Regions from separate parts of the Homo sapiens genome. Here regions 2, 3, 4 and 5 are each linked to region 1. The links are contacts of gene promoters, found by promoter capture Hi-C in blood cells and fetal thymus (Javierre and others, 2016). All regions are on one chromosome and are shown on one strand. The core of a region is centred on a gene start or on the middle of the fragment in contact, and the rest is flanking DNA. Distances in the headings are between cores, read along the strand shown.

What was found. Contacts are between HindIII fragments. The CHiCAGO score rates a contact against its expected background, and 5 or more counts as called.
Region 2: a contact is called between a fragment that was not itself captured here and the fragment with the promoter of PRSS16 in region 1, in 1 of 17 cell types (endothelial precursors). The highest score is 5.6, in endothelial precursors.
Region 3: a fragment that was not itself captured here is called in contact with the fragment with the promoter of PRSS16 in region 1 in 7 of 17 cell types (megakaryocytes, erythroblasts, naive CD4 T cells and 4 more); the score reaches 7.7 in megakaryocytes.
Region 4: a fragment that was not itself captured here is called in contact with the fragment with the promoter of PRSS16 in region 1 in 6 of 17 cell types (erythroblasts, M2 macrophages, endothelial precursors and 3 more); the score reaches 9.3 in erythroblasts.
Region 5: a fragment that was not itself captured here is called in contact with the fragment with the promoter of PRSS16 in region 1 in 1 of 17 cell types (megakaryocytes); the score reaches 5.4 in megakaryocytes.

What each region holds. Positions count from the first base shown.
Region 1 is chr6:27,246,354-27,249,083 of GRCh38, reverse strand. PRSS16 (serine protease 16) reads right to left here and starts at 1,383. Exons shown (of 12, transcript NM_005865.4): 1 at 1,277-1,383; 2 at 1,036-1,202; 3 at 138-237. The coding sequence starts at 1,346. The HindIII fragment of the contact is 3,507 bases long and covers 1-2,730 here.
Region 2 is chr6:27,756,640-27,759,369 of GRCh38, reverse strand. No RefSeq gene overlaps it. Among named protein-coding and RNA genes, the nearest start is that of TRV-AAC1-5, 4.5 kb to the right of the region's middle. The HindIII fragment of the contact is 2,133 bases long and covers 267-2,399 here.
Region 3 is chr6:27,704,224-27,706,953 of GRCh38, reverse strand. The region is part of intron 2 of LINC01012 (long intergenic non-protein coding RNA 1012); the gene reads right to left. All of the region lies in intron 1 of LOC124901291 (a long non-coding RNA gene), which reads left to right. Among named protein-coding and RNA genes, the nearest start is that of LINC01012, 12 kb to the right of the region's middle. The HindIII fragment of the contact is 4,279 bases long and covers 1-2,730 here.
Region 4 is chr6:27,639,826-27,642,555 of GRCh38, reverse strand. No RefSeq gene overlaps it. Among named protein-coding and RNA genes, the nearest start is that of TRI-TAT2-3, 9.8 kb to the right of the region's middle. The HindIII fragment of the contact is 1,285 bases long and covers 669-1,953 here.
Region 5 is chr6:27,608,686-27,611,415 of GRCh38, reverse strand. No RefSeq gene overlaps it. Among named protein-coding and RNA genes, the nearest start is that of TRL-CAA2-1, 4.3 kb to the right of the region's middle. The HindIII fragment of the contact is 1,114 bases long and covers 818-1,931 here.

The DNA.
Region 1 (2,730 bases), core at 134-2,633:
GGTGGGGGGTGGGGAGGTGAGATGCAAGTTGAGTTTAAGCCCTTTCACTCCTCAGGTCTCACAGCATTGCAATATGCAGCTCCCCTTCCTGGTCCCCACCAGCATCCCAACTCCTTTCCCCCAACATTGCCTCTTACCTCTCATCACTGAGCCAGGCCCAAGGCTGCCCTCACCCCCTAGATGCAGGAATATGGGTCCATCCTGGCCAACCCAATGTTGGTCATTCACCCAGTAACGCTGAGAGGTGGGATGGGGAAGAAGAAATGGCACTGTGAGAGTCCTGACTTATTCTCAATTCCTCATTTGTTCCAGTCTCTCTTCCTAATGGATCTTTCCTTATGTACTTAACAGTGTCTGAAATGAGCTTGTTTATTTACTTGCTCACTTTTCCCCTGTTCATCTCCTCATCTAGAATGCAAAATATACAAAAGCAAATTTTTGACCTGGTTTTTCACTCTTATATCCCCAGAACTGAGGGAGTGGCTCTCACATTGAAGGAACTTGCTATTTCTTGAAGTAATAATTGTAAAATAAGAAATAAATGCAGATGGATTTAGGAATAAGATCCAAGTGGGATGATATTTGGAGACTAAATACAGAGGAAGCACTGAAAAATGGCGAATTTGTTCCTTCTTTCGATAGATATCTTTGAGTGCCTGTTGTGAGCTAGGTCTGATTCCAAAGCTGGTTCAAATTTCTGCTACCTACTGAGACCTGGTGGTAGGTTTTGTGTCCAGTCTGGACAGGGACAAGGGGGTAGGGAGGAGCAGTGAATGTGAATGACAGAGAGAAAGAAATGGTGAAGGGCAAGATCTGAGGGACAAAACGAGTGGGACCCCGAGGAGAGGAGAGAGTAAGGCCAAATCTACAAAGGGCAGGAAAAGGGATACTGACAGCAAGCATAACATGAGATTCAAGCAGAGGGATGGGGAGAACTGAGGTGTGGAGAGAGAAAAAAGTGCAGACTGAGGAAGAGATGAGGGAGACTGAGGAGAGGGCAGGATGGTTAGTGGACTCCCCGTCTCCCGGCCTCACCTGTAGGAAGGATCGTCTGTCGGACACGTTGAAGGGGTCCAGCAGTTGCTCCAGCCACCCCACTTTTGGGAGGGCTGCAGCACCTGGCCCCAGGCTCAGGCCCAGGCCCTGGGCAGAGCTCTCCTGAAACTGCTGAATGTGCTCACCCAGGCGCCTAAGAAGGGAGGCTGTGGGACATGGAGGGAAGGAAGTCAGGCTGGCCCCCTTAGGATGCCCTGCTTGACCCTCAGCCTCCTCTTACCTGGAGCCAAGAGTCCCCAGAGGGAAACCAAGAGCAGAGGGCCCAGCCACTGGGCAAGCCAGACGGCCATGGTGTTCGGGACTCTGTTCTCCCCCAGGAGGACCTTTATCTTATCCTCAGCAGCCGGGCCTTAAATCCATCACCTTTCAGCAGAGGCTCAGGTTTCTTTCCTTTCCTGGCAGGTCAAGCGTCTGTAGGAACTGCTAAAGCGGGGCAGGGACGCCAGAGTCTGTACACAGAGGCTGCTGATGCAGCATCGGAACTCCCAGTTTCTTCTCTCTGGGCCTCTCAGTCTGTTCTTCCCTCAGCTCTCAGTAGCCCTCGCTGTCTCAGTCTCCTCCTCTCCGCTCTTCGGTCTACCTTCTCTTTATCTCAGATTCCTCCTTTGCATGCCTTATTGTCCTTCAACCTCTGTCTCTCCCCACCTCAGCACCTCCTCTGGAACCCCAGTTGCCCACTTATTCTCAGTCTTTTCTTTCTGCCCCTCAGCATATCTTCAGTACCCCTCAGTTGTTCCCACACTCAGTCTTTCCGTCTCTTTTTTCTCAGTCCCCCATCTCTTTTTCAGTCTTTCTCTCCATACTCATCTCTTTGTCCCCCAATCTCACCTTGTCTATTTTCCAGCCCCCTCACTTTCTGCTCTGCTTCACTGTCCCGAGCTTCTCTGACCCACAATCTCACACTGTCCATAGACTCCTTACAGTTCTTTGAACATACCAGGCTTGCTTCTGCCTTAGGGTTCTTATTCTTGTTGTTCCCACCCTATGGATTGTGATTTCCCTATATACCCACGTGGTTTGCTCCCTCACTTCAACTGGATCTTTATTCAAAGGTCATTCATTCAGAAAGGTCTTCCATGGTCAGCTTTTTAAAAATTGCCAAACCTATGGCCCTCTTCTATTCCTTTTCAAACTTTATTCCTAATTCTTTTTCATGGGACTTATCACTATGAGAAATATTGTACATTTAAAAAGTTATTCCCATAAATTTAAAAAATATATCCAGAATCTGATGACTTCTCACTACCTTCAGTGCTACCACTGCTGAGCCACCATCATCTCTGACTTGGGATATCATGGAAGGCTTTTAGCTGGTCACCCTGTTTCTGCCTCATGATTTATTCTACACTCAGCAGACAGAGAGACAGAATTAAATATTAGCCCAATCATTCACAATCATTCACTCCCTGGTTTAGAACACTTCCCTGATGCCCCATCTTACTCAAAGTAAATCTAAAGTTTTGAAAACAGTTTTTAAAACTCTGTATGACCTGGCCCCCTGTTGTATATACTGTCATGATTTCATCTCCTACCCCTCCTGGGTTCACTGCTCCAACTGCATTGGACTATTTCATATTTCACAAGACTCACTCCTTCCTTAGAATTTTTGCTCTCCTTAGGATGCTTTTCCTCCAAATATCTGCAAGTCTTATTTTATCACTTCCTATAGTTCCC
Region 2 (2,730 bases), core at 84-2,583, 510 kb before region 1:
ATTTCAAGGAGAGGAGCTTGTAATGCAGAGGGGCAAGAGGCAGGAGGTGCCCAGTGGGTGTCTCATTCTGATGGCTTATCTTGAATTATTGTTTCACCTGGTGAAGGGGCCAGTGACATTGTAGGCCCAATCAAGTTACAAATTAATGACAGTCAATCTTGCAGATAATCTCTAGCCAAGAGTGAATATTGTCCTTGAATTAATCTCCTACTGGAGAGAGAATTCTGGAGATGTCTGGTCTGCATCAGGATTCAGCCCCTGAAGCTTCTAAGGAAATATATGACCAGATAAGTGGGCATGGTATGAGCTTAACAAGCATCCAGGTAAATAAATGAGCATAAGGCATGGGGGCATAAGATGCGAAAGGGAAGGCAGTTTTAATGCCCATTCCAAGGCAGTAATTGACGACAAAAGAAAGCACATCTGCAGTTTGTCTCAAAGCTATGTCTAGAAACTGGGGAGAAAGAAGAAAAGAAACAAAGTTTTTAAAACGTGGTTTGAAGCTAAGCTGCTTGGTTACCTTCCAACCTTCTGCAAGATTTTGCTGTTTTTTGTTATTATTAAAACAAGTAATAGGCCAGGCGCAGTGGCTCACACTTGTAATCCCAGCACTGTGGGAGGCTGAGTCAGGCAGATCACTGGAACTCAGGAGTTCGGAGGGGGAAAAAAACCAAGCCTGCGCGCTCTGAGCCCCACCCCCCATTCCCCATGGTGTCTGAGTAGGCTCCCAGGGCGAGCAGGATCCCTCCTCACAGGCGAGACTGGCTTCCTTGGAAAACCAATAGTCGGACTTGCGAGTTTTCCTCCAAGATAATTTTCTCAGGGACTTCTAAATGTGGTGCTGTACGCCTATGGTCCTAGCTACTTGGCAGGCTGAAGTCGAAGGATTGCTTGAGCCCTGGAGGTCTAAGCTGTAGTGAGCCGAGATCGCGGCCACTGCACTCCAGCTTGGGTGACAGAGCAAGACTCTGTCAAAACAAACAAACAAAACACACACACACACACAATGTAAACCAGGAATAGAAGGAAACTTCCTCAACTTGATAATGCCCAATTATGAAAAACATACAACTAATATCATTCTCAACAGCGAAAGACTGAAAATTTTTCTCCTACAATCAGGAATAATGGGTGCCCACTTTCACCATGTTATTCAGCACAGTATTGGCAAGGAAAAAGTAAAATTATCTATGTTCACAGATAACATGACTTTTTTTTGAGAGAGAGATGGGATCTCTCTTTGTCACCCAGGCTGGGATGCAGCAGAGCAATTATGCCTCACTGAAGCCTCGACTTCCCTGGTTCAAGCGATTACCCTGCCTCATCCTCCGGAGTAACTGGGACCACAGGCGCCTGCCACCATGCCCGGCTAATAAAAAAAATTTTAGAGACTAGGGTCTCGCTATGTTGCCCGTGTTGCCCAGGCTGGTCTCGAACTCCTGGGCTCAGGCGATCCTCCTACCTTGGCCTCCCAAAGTGCTGGGATTACAGGTGTGAGCCACCAAGCCTGGCCGTGACATGATTTTTATATATAGAAAACCCTGAAAATTACACACACACACTCAAACACACACACACACAAACTGTTACAGCAAATAAAGAAATTTAGCAAAATAAGGATAAACAACCACATGAGTTCCAGCAGAGAGCGCGGTGGGAAGCGGAGCGCGGCCAGCTGCTCTGGGGCCCTGCAGACCCTCTGGTCTTGGACCTGAGGAGGAGACGGGGGCCCGGCCCCGCGGCGGCCTCTGCTCTGCAGGCTCCCAGAGTCCTTGCTGTGTCTCCCACCGGCCAGGCCCAGGCCTGAGGCAGCGTCGAACCTCTCTTCACTTCCCACCTCGGTGACCTGGTGGCCCTCTGGTCTTCCAGAAAACCCTGCCGGGCCTAGACTAAGCCCCCGCTGGCCGCCAGGACGCAGCGCCTTTGTGTGGCGGCGGGTGTCGGGGGCGGGAAGAATCGCGCGGAAGCTGCCGGGGTGTGCAGGGACCGGGAAGGCGGAGCTAGGGATGCAGGTTCGGTCGCCTCTTTAGGCCACTGCGCCACGCAGATTGGGTCCAGAAGGTGCCGTTAAGTTTCTTCCCAGAAACTGTCAAGGTGCTGGTATGTTTCTTGCCCTTGCACTTTTAGTGTACTAAAATCAACGGCCAAACTCTACTCTTTATAGCAATCAAAGTATTCACCCATGCGCCCAATTTCTTTGCAAATGCCAAGCAAGAAAACCTCAGGTAGATGGAGGGAGCAGATAATTTGACTTTTTTTTTCTTTAATTTCACTATAGTGTCCTCCTCCACACATACAAGGATGAAGTTTTGTTTTTTAAGATGAAACAAATTTGTCATTAATGAAAGGATTGTCAAAATCTTCCCAAAGGTCCTCAGCTTCTGAATCACCTGGAAGCTTCTAAAAATTAAGACTTGTGGGCCATACCAGAGACCCTCTGCACTAGAAGGGGGTATGGCAAGGAATCTTAGGAATAGTCCACCTGGAGAATCACTAGCGTAAGTTCTGGGCCTCACATTCCCTCAGAAGAGTCCCATGAACCTGTGGTCAGCAGCTTAGGGCTGGTCTTCTTTACTGATCTGAGGGACAATGGGAAGCTTAGGACTCCCTGCATGGCATCTCTCCCGCCCAGGGGAGAACAGCTCAACAAATTTCCTCATTAACTACAAAGTTAAATGGAAGCATATGCTATGAAAATGCCACAAAAAGCTGTTGCTAGATGAAAATGTC
Region 3 (2,730 bases), core at 171-2,670, 460 kb before region 1:
CCTATCTCATTTAATAAGAGGTCCCAAGGTAAATCATCCAGAGGTGGCACTACTGTCAAGAATGTCCCCAGCTCCTGTCTTCTTGCTCAATTGCCTTTGTCCCATGGCTTTCATCACGGATGTATGATAGCTGCTGTTCCTCCAGGAATTCTCTCTGCATTCCTGAGAGGCAGAAAGAAGGGCAAAAATGCACAGGGCAAAGAATTGATGGAGTGTTCCAGCCAAGTTGCTCCCTTTCAAAAAATGTTTCCCGAAAACCCTAAATGACGCTGACTTGAATCACAATGATCAGATCCAGGTCACATGTTACCCCAACTACAGAGAAATCAGAAAAAGAAAGAATTTTTAGTTCTCCAGCCACTGTGGTGAAGGAAATCAAAGAAGAATGCAGTTTGAGACAGATAATATATTTCACTTGCCTGAAGGGTACCCATGAACACCAAGAAACTCGTGCAAAATATCAAGTGTATGTGTATTTTTCTGAAGAGTCAGTCCACAGCTTTCATGAGATCCTTAGAGTCCAAAAACAAGGGCTTTCAAGCCCTAGTTTCTTGACTTGAGGGCCTAAATGTTTTCACAAAAAGGATGTCTGCTCCTTTTCATCCCCTCTGTCTGCCATCACGTCAAATAATAAAACCTGAGGGCATGGAACTCTCTTAATTGCTGTATCCTTTCCTTTTTTCTAAAAGAAGATTGTGAATTCATTGTAAATGCTGCTTATACTATTATATACTTGTCTATAATTTGTCCTAAAGTATATTCTTTGGTGTGTGTATTTTTTTTTTTTTTTTTTGAGACAAAGTCTCGCTCTGTCGCCCAGGCTGGAGTGCAGAGGCGCGATCTCGGCTCACTGCAAGCTCCGCCTCCCGGGTTCACGCCATTCTCCTGCCTCAGTCTCCCGAGTAGCTGGGACTACAGGCGCTCGCCACCACGTGCGGCTAATTTTTTGTATTTTTAGTAGAGACGGGGTTTCACCGTGTTAGCCGGGACGGTCTCGATCTCCTGACCTCGTGATCCGCCCCCCTTGGCCTCCCAAAGTGCTGGGATTACATGCATGAGCCACCGTGCCCGGCCTGGTGTGTGTAGGTTTTTAATGTGATTTCCCAAATAGATAATATACTTTTTTTTTTTTTTTTTTTTTTTTTTTTTGTGAGACAGAATCTTCCTCTGTCACCCAGGCTGGAGTGCAATCGCACCATAATGGCTCACTACAGCCTCAAATTCCTAGGCTCAAGCCAATCTCCCACCTCAGTAACCTGAGTAGCTGGGACTACAGGCATGTGCCAATATACATAGCTAAGTTCAATTTTTTTTGTAGAGATGAGGTTTCACTATGTTGACCAGGCTGGTCTTGAACTCCTGGGCTCAAGCGATCCTCCCACCCTGGACTCCCAAAGCATGTCCTTGTATGTTTTCGTCCTTTGTCATTTGCATAAAGTTGGGGAGCAAGGAACATTAACATCCGAAATAAGTTGCTGTGTCCTGAATTTCAGCCTGGCAATAATACTTGGAGATTTGTGTTCTCTGACTGAAGAAACCAGAAGGGTTTTTAAAGATGAGAGGCAGTAACTGGATTTATTCTGGGGTGTCTGAAAGACTGACTAATTCAGGAGTAAAACCTAAACACTGAAGGATTTGCATTCTTCAACATATGACTTTCACTTAATGGGAAGACGGAAGACTTATCAACAAAACTACTGGGATCATCTGGAATCTCACCCTGAAAACACTTAGATCAAAAGTACTAATTGTGAAGTATCAGCTGAACAGTGTATAAAACAGGTTGGAAATGAGTTCTAAAATTATTAAAATGTTAGAATTGAGAAAGTTTAAATCTATTTAAGAATAGCACATAGGTTTATATTCTGGGTAAAATGCATTTAGAAAGTTAACGTTTGCTACTCCTGACAGTAATGAGTCTGAGTTCGGTAGAAAGAGCCTTCCCATCTACAAATCAGCCAAGAGAATGTTCCACTGTGCAGAGAACAAGCGATTTACAAGAAATGGGGAATACTTTTTAAAATAACGAGCTAGGCTGGGCGCAGTGGCTCAAGCCTGTAATCCCAGCACTTTGGGAGGCCGAGGCGGGAGGGTTGCTTGAGCCCAGGAGTTCGAGACCAGCCTGGGCAACATGGTAAAACTCCATCTCTACTAAAAATACATACAAAAAAATAAAATGTAGCAGGGTGTGGTGGTGCATGTCTGTAATCCCAGCTCCTTAGGAGGCTGAGGTACAAGAATCACTTGAACCCAGGAGGTGGAGGTTGCAGTAAGCCAAGATCGTGCCACTGCACTCCAGCCTGCGGGACAGACTGAGACACTATCTCAAAGAAACAACAACAAAAAAGAAATAAAATAACAAGCTAAAAAACTTTAAAAAGTCAGTCTTTCAATAAAATTAATTTTTGTTTTGTCCCAACAATGTTATGTTTAACATAGTTTTGTACCACTTTTCACAGTGAATCATTTTTATTTTTTTAATATCTAACTCAAGCCCCAACTTTTTTTTGCAGTTGAGATAATCTGACTTTCAATCAGCAGATGTATTAGCTCCCTTATGTTGGCCTTAACCTCTTTATGGGTTAAGAAAATTTGGAAAAGGTAAATGGTCATTTCCAAGTTAGGCTCTCTGATGAGAAGAATTCCTGAAATTTGAAAATACGCTGATCAAGTTCAGAGTCTCAGCTTTTGGTGTCTGTGCCCTTTAAACATCAAAAAAGAGAAGTGTGA
Region 4 (2,730 bases), core at 62-2,561, 390 kb before region 1:
TTTTGTATTTTTAGTAGAGACGGGTTTTCTCCATGTTGGTCAGGCTGGTCTCAAACTCCCGATCTCAGGTGATCTGCCCGCCTCAGCCTCCCAAAGTGCTAGGATTACAGGTGTGAGACACCACACCGGGCCCATTTTTATTTTTAACCAGGTTTTTGTTTTTATTTGTTTTGATTAACTACTGAATTGTAAGAGTTATGTATCTTGGAAATTAACCCCTTATCAGATATATGGTTTGCAAATTTGTTTTCCCATTTAATAGGTTGCTTTTTTTTTTTTTTTTTGCTGTGCAGAAGGCCTATAATACCAGCACTTCGGGAGGCCGAGGTGGGTGGATCATCTGAGGTCGGGAGTTTGAGACCAACCTGACCAACATGGAGAAACTCTGTATCTACTAAAAATACAAAATTAGCTGGGTATGGTGGCACATGTCTGAGGCAGGAGAATCACTTGAACCCGTGAGGTGGAGGTTGCGGTGAGCCAAGATTGCACCATTGCACTTCTGCCAGGGCAACAAGAACGAAACTCCATCTCAAAAAAAAACAAACAAACAAAGAAAAAGAAACTCTTTTGTTTGATGTAATCCCATTTTTCTATTTTTGCTATTTTGGGCTATGATTTTGATGTCATAGTAATTAAATCATTGCCAAGACCAATGTCCTAAAGCTTTCCTCCCAGAGTTTTATATTTGCAGATCTTAGATTTAAGTCATTAATCCATTTTAGTTAATTTTTGTGAATGGTGTAAACAAGGGTCTAATTTCATTCTTTTTCATGTGAATATCTAGTTTTCTCAACATCATTTGTTGAAGAGATCGTTTTTTTCCCATTGTGTGTTCTTGGCAACTTTGTTAAAGATCAGTTGGCCATATATTTATGGATTAATCTCTGGACTCTCTATTCTGTTATTTTGGTTTATATACCTGTCTTTATGCTAGTACCAGACTGTTTTAATAACTGTAGCTCTGTAGTATATGCTGAAATCAGGAAGTGTGATGTCTTCAGCTTTGTTGTTCTTTCTCAAGATTGACTTGGTGACTTTGGGTTCTTTGTAGTTTCATATGAGTTTTATATGAATTTTATGGTCTTTTTTTCTGTTTCATAAAAACTGCCAGATAGATTTGGATACGGATTGCATTAATTGTACATCACTGAAAATTTTAACAAACATTAACAACATTTCACCTTCATGATTAAGTTTAATTCTTTTTTAAGGGGGAGGGGTGCTACTATAAATGGGATTGTCCTTTAATTTTTCTTTTTATGTAGTTTATTGTTTATTATTTCATGTAGTTTATTGTTACTGTATAGTAATGCAAGTGATTTCTGAATGTTGATTTTATATTCTGCAAATATATTGAATTTTTTCATTAGTATTAACACTTCTTTTTAATGGAGTCTTTAGGAGTGTCTCTATAAAAAGTCATGTTATCTTCAAACAGGCTCAATTTTACTTCTTCCTTTCCAATTTGGATGCTTTTGATGGTGTTGTTTTTTTCTTATGTTGAGACAGGGTCTTGCTTGAACTCAGTCTTCAGGTTGACTGATAATGCATGATTCAAATCACATGATTGGTATTTCTGACGAGGTTATGGGGTGTGGCCAGCCTCATCTTAAAAAAAAATACACTATACCCAAGCGGGGTGGTGGGCACTTATAGTCCTAGCTACTTGAGAAGCGGAGGCAGGAGGATCCCTTCAGCCTAGGAGCTTGAATCCAGCCTGGGCAACATAGTGAAATGCTATCTCTTAAAACAAACAAAACACTACTGTTAGGTGGTCCAGCTTTTCATTACACAGGAAGAGATGGGCTCGTCCTCAGAAACTAATCTAGAATGACATCTGACAAAGAACAGAACATAAATAATTCTGCTTTTCTAGGAAACTAATAACAGAAACCAATAGCCTGTTCTGAGGAGAACTGGGTGGCTAGGATATAAGAAAAATGGTAAGCTTTACACAAAAAATATTTTAAACCATGCATATTATCTATGCAAAATTTTAAAGAATTAACAAACTATTACATGAAATACAGTTTAGAAATGACAAGAGATGGAAAAGACTATATTTATGCTCTGGATAAAATCACTTAGGGGAGCATTTTAAGGATACAGATCTTCTCAGTTTATACCAGAAATAGAAATGGAAATAGGGGTGAACAAAAGTAAACAAACAATAAAGAAATCCAGAAGATCAAAATGGAAAAAAAAAAAAAGAGGGAGAAAGAAAATTTTTCTACTATTGAAATTATATTCCATAAATAATCTAAAAAATTATTGGACTCTGGCCGGGCACGGTGGCTCACACCTGTAATCCCAGCACTTTGGGAGGCCGAGACGGGCAGATCACAAGGTCAGGAGATCGAGACCATCCTGACACGGTGAAACCCCGTCTCTACTAAAAATACAAAAAATTATCCGGGCGTGGTGGTGGGCACCTGTAGTCCCAGCTACTCGGGAGGCTGAGGCAGGAGAATGGTGTAAACCCGGGGGGCAGAGCTTGCAGTGAGCCGAGATCGCACCACTGCACTCCAGCCTGGGTGACAGAGAGACACTCTGTCTCAAAAAAAAAAATTATTGGATTCATTTTCACATGAAGATAAAAATTTTAAAAGTAGAATACTTAGCCCCTTTTGGTGGTGGTGTGATATCTCACAGTAGATGTTACCCAACATGGGGACTAAAACAAACTCATTTCAAATTCTAGTTGTTAGCCAAGCATATATATCAATC
Region 5 (2,730 bases), core at 125-2,624, 360 kb before region 1:
AAAGAGGAGGCTGATGGAGCCTCCAGCACATGATTATGGTGGAGGAAAGTATGCCTAGCTCTCTGCTTTCTGTAGATATCTAAACCCCAAATTTATATCCCACCCCACTCCAGGCCATGCTTGCATGTAAGGGGCAACTTGTACAGAATAGAGAAAAATTGTTAGCCCAAGCAGTCTGTAGTTGGTTCCGACTCCTCACACTTATATCACATAAACAACAAACATATGGAAAGACATGGAAGTTCTAATCATCCTCCAGAAGAACAACAAAGAACTCAAAGTTATCAGTGCATACAGAATGAAAGGTACAGAACAAAAGAATAGAGCAATAAAGTCATGCCCTTGGCTTCATCTTTAGACCATGTTTTGCTGACAATGCCTTGGGTCTGATGTTTTCCTAGAAGACTTTTTTTTTTTTTCCAGCTAATGTGCCGTGGCAGAAGCCTTTTCTTTTCTTCTCTCTTTCTCTCAGCAGAATCAAAGCCTTTTCTTAATTACAGCATTATCTGTCATCTTGACAGGCTGGTAATGAGAAGCAGTTTTATTTTTGAATATCCAACAAGTCCTAAAGTATTCTTTCTTTAGTTTATCTCCCTGCTCTCTTATTTTACTATAGGCAGCTAGAAAAAGCCAGGTGGCATCTTCAATATATTGCCTGGAAATAACCTTAGCTAAATAAGCAAAATCGTTAGGTATATTTTCTACTTTCCACATTTTCTTTCTTTCTTTCTTTTTTTTTTTTTTTTTTTTTGATATGGAGTCTCACTCTGTCACCTAGGCTGGAGTGCAGTGGCTTGATCTCGGCTCACTGCAAGCTTCACCTCCCGGGTTCATGCCATTCTCCTGCCTCAGCCTCCCAAGTAGCGGGGACTACAGGTGCCCGCCACCATGCCAGGCTAATTTTTTTTTGTATTTTTAGTACAGACGGGGTTTCACCATGTTAGCCAGGATGGTCTCGATCTCCTGACCTCGTGATCTGCCCACTTTGACCTCCCAAAGTGCTGGGACTACAGGCGTGAGCCACAGCTCCCAGCCTCTTTCTTTCTTTTTTCTTTTTCTTTCTTTCTTTCTTTCTTTCTTTCTTTCTTTCTTTCTTTCTTTCTTTCTTTCTTTCTTTCTTTTCTTTTTTCTTTCTTTCTTTCTTTCTTTAATTCATTAGGTATATTTTCTACTTTCCACTCTTTCTTTCTTTCAAATTCATTAGGTATATTTTCTACTTTCCACATTTTCTTTCTTTTCTTTTCTTTTTTTGAGACAGAGTTTCACTCTTGTTGCCCAGGCTGGAGTGCAATGGTGTGATCTTGGCTCACTGCAACCTCGCTCCTCACCCCCATCAGGTTCAAGCGATTCTCCTGCCTCAGCCTCCTGAGTAGCTGGGATTACAGGCATGTGACACCACACCCAGCTAATTTTGTATTTTTAGTAGAGACGGGGTTTCACCATGTTAACCAGGCTGGTCTCAAACTCCTGACCTTAGGTGATCCACCCACCTAGGCCTCCAAAAGTGCTGGGATTACAGGTGTGAGCCACCGCGTCCGGCCTACTTTCCACATTTTCACAACAGTGTTGCTAAACTTTCTGTCTCTAGATAACAAAAGTCCGGTTTCTTCCAGCTTCTAGTAACATTTTCCACACTCTCCATTAAGCATCACTGACTTTGGGACTTAGTGACAGGCAGCAGTTGTCTTCAGGTGTTTTTACTCATATTCTCCTCAAGGTCTTTTCAGTTTCCACTTGCTGTCAAGTCCCAAAGTCACATGGTTCAGAATTTATTAATTATGGCAGTATCCCATTTTTAAGTAAGAAAATCTGCATTTGCTTGTACCCATTCAGGATTTATTGCCTCTCAGCTCCAAATTCACCCTTTTTGCCTGCTTCGTGGAAATGAATCTTGAGTCCTTGGTTTTCTTTTGCCAATTGGCATTGAAGCTTTGTCAGTAGAGGGCAGTGGAGAGACATTGCGGAAGAAAGTGAGTTTTGCTTCTTTCTTCCCATGTATTACTTGGCCTGCTGCTTCCCCAGTGCCTAGCTCCTACATCACGCATGCCTTTCCCCTGCATCAGTCTCCTGCAGCACCCAGCAACAACTAATTTTCCCTGGCATCTTCTTTGAGTGTTTTGTAGTAGAGTGCCCTCAGTGAGAGACCTCTCCACGAAGAGCTTTTCAAGAAACCCTTGAAGATTAATTTCCAAAAAATTCCAGAGGACAGATTTCAAGCAAATTCTGCTGGCATAGCACCATGAGCATTTCTCTGCTATTCCGTGAGTCACAGCCATGCTCTCCCCAACAAGGTCTGGATCTTAGCCAGGGGTGGGGTGAGAGGTAGAGGGCACTTCTTTTAGTGCTTTGTTTCAGCCCCAGGTGAGGTCACTTCTATGTTCAAATAACTGTGTAATTTCTCTCTCCTGATTGCACCAAGACTGATACATACCTAACTATTGTTACATAACAAATCATACTAAAATGCAATGGCTTAACTTAAACAACAATTATCATTTATTCTCTCTCACAGATGTGTTGGTCAGGAATGTGAGCAGAAAACAGTGGGGACAGCTTGTCTCTGCTCCATGATTTCTTAGGACTCAACTGGAAGACTATAAGGCTGGTTGCTGAAGGCTGGGCATGGTGGCTCACACTTGTAATCCCAGCACTTTGGGAGGCCAAGGTGGAAGGATCCTTTAAGCCCAGAATTCAAGACCAGCCTGGCCAACATGGCAAAACCCCATCTCT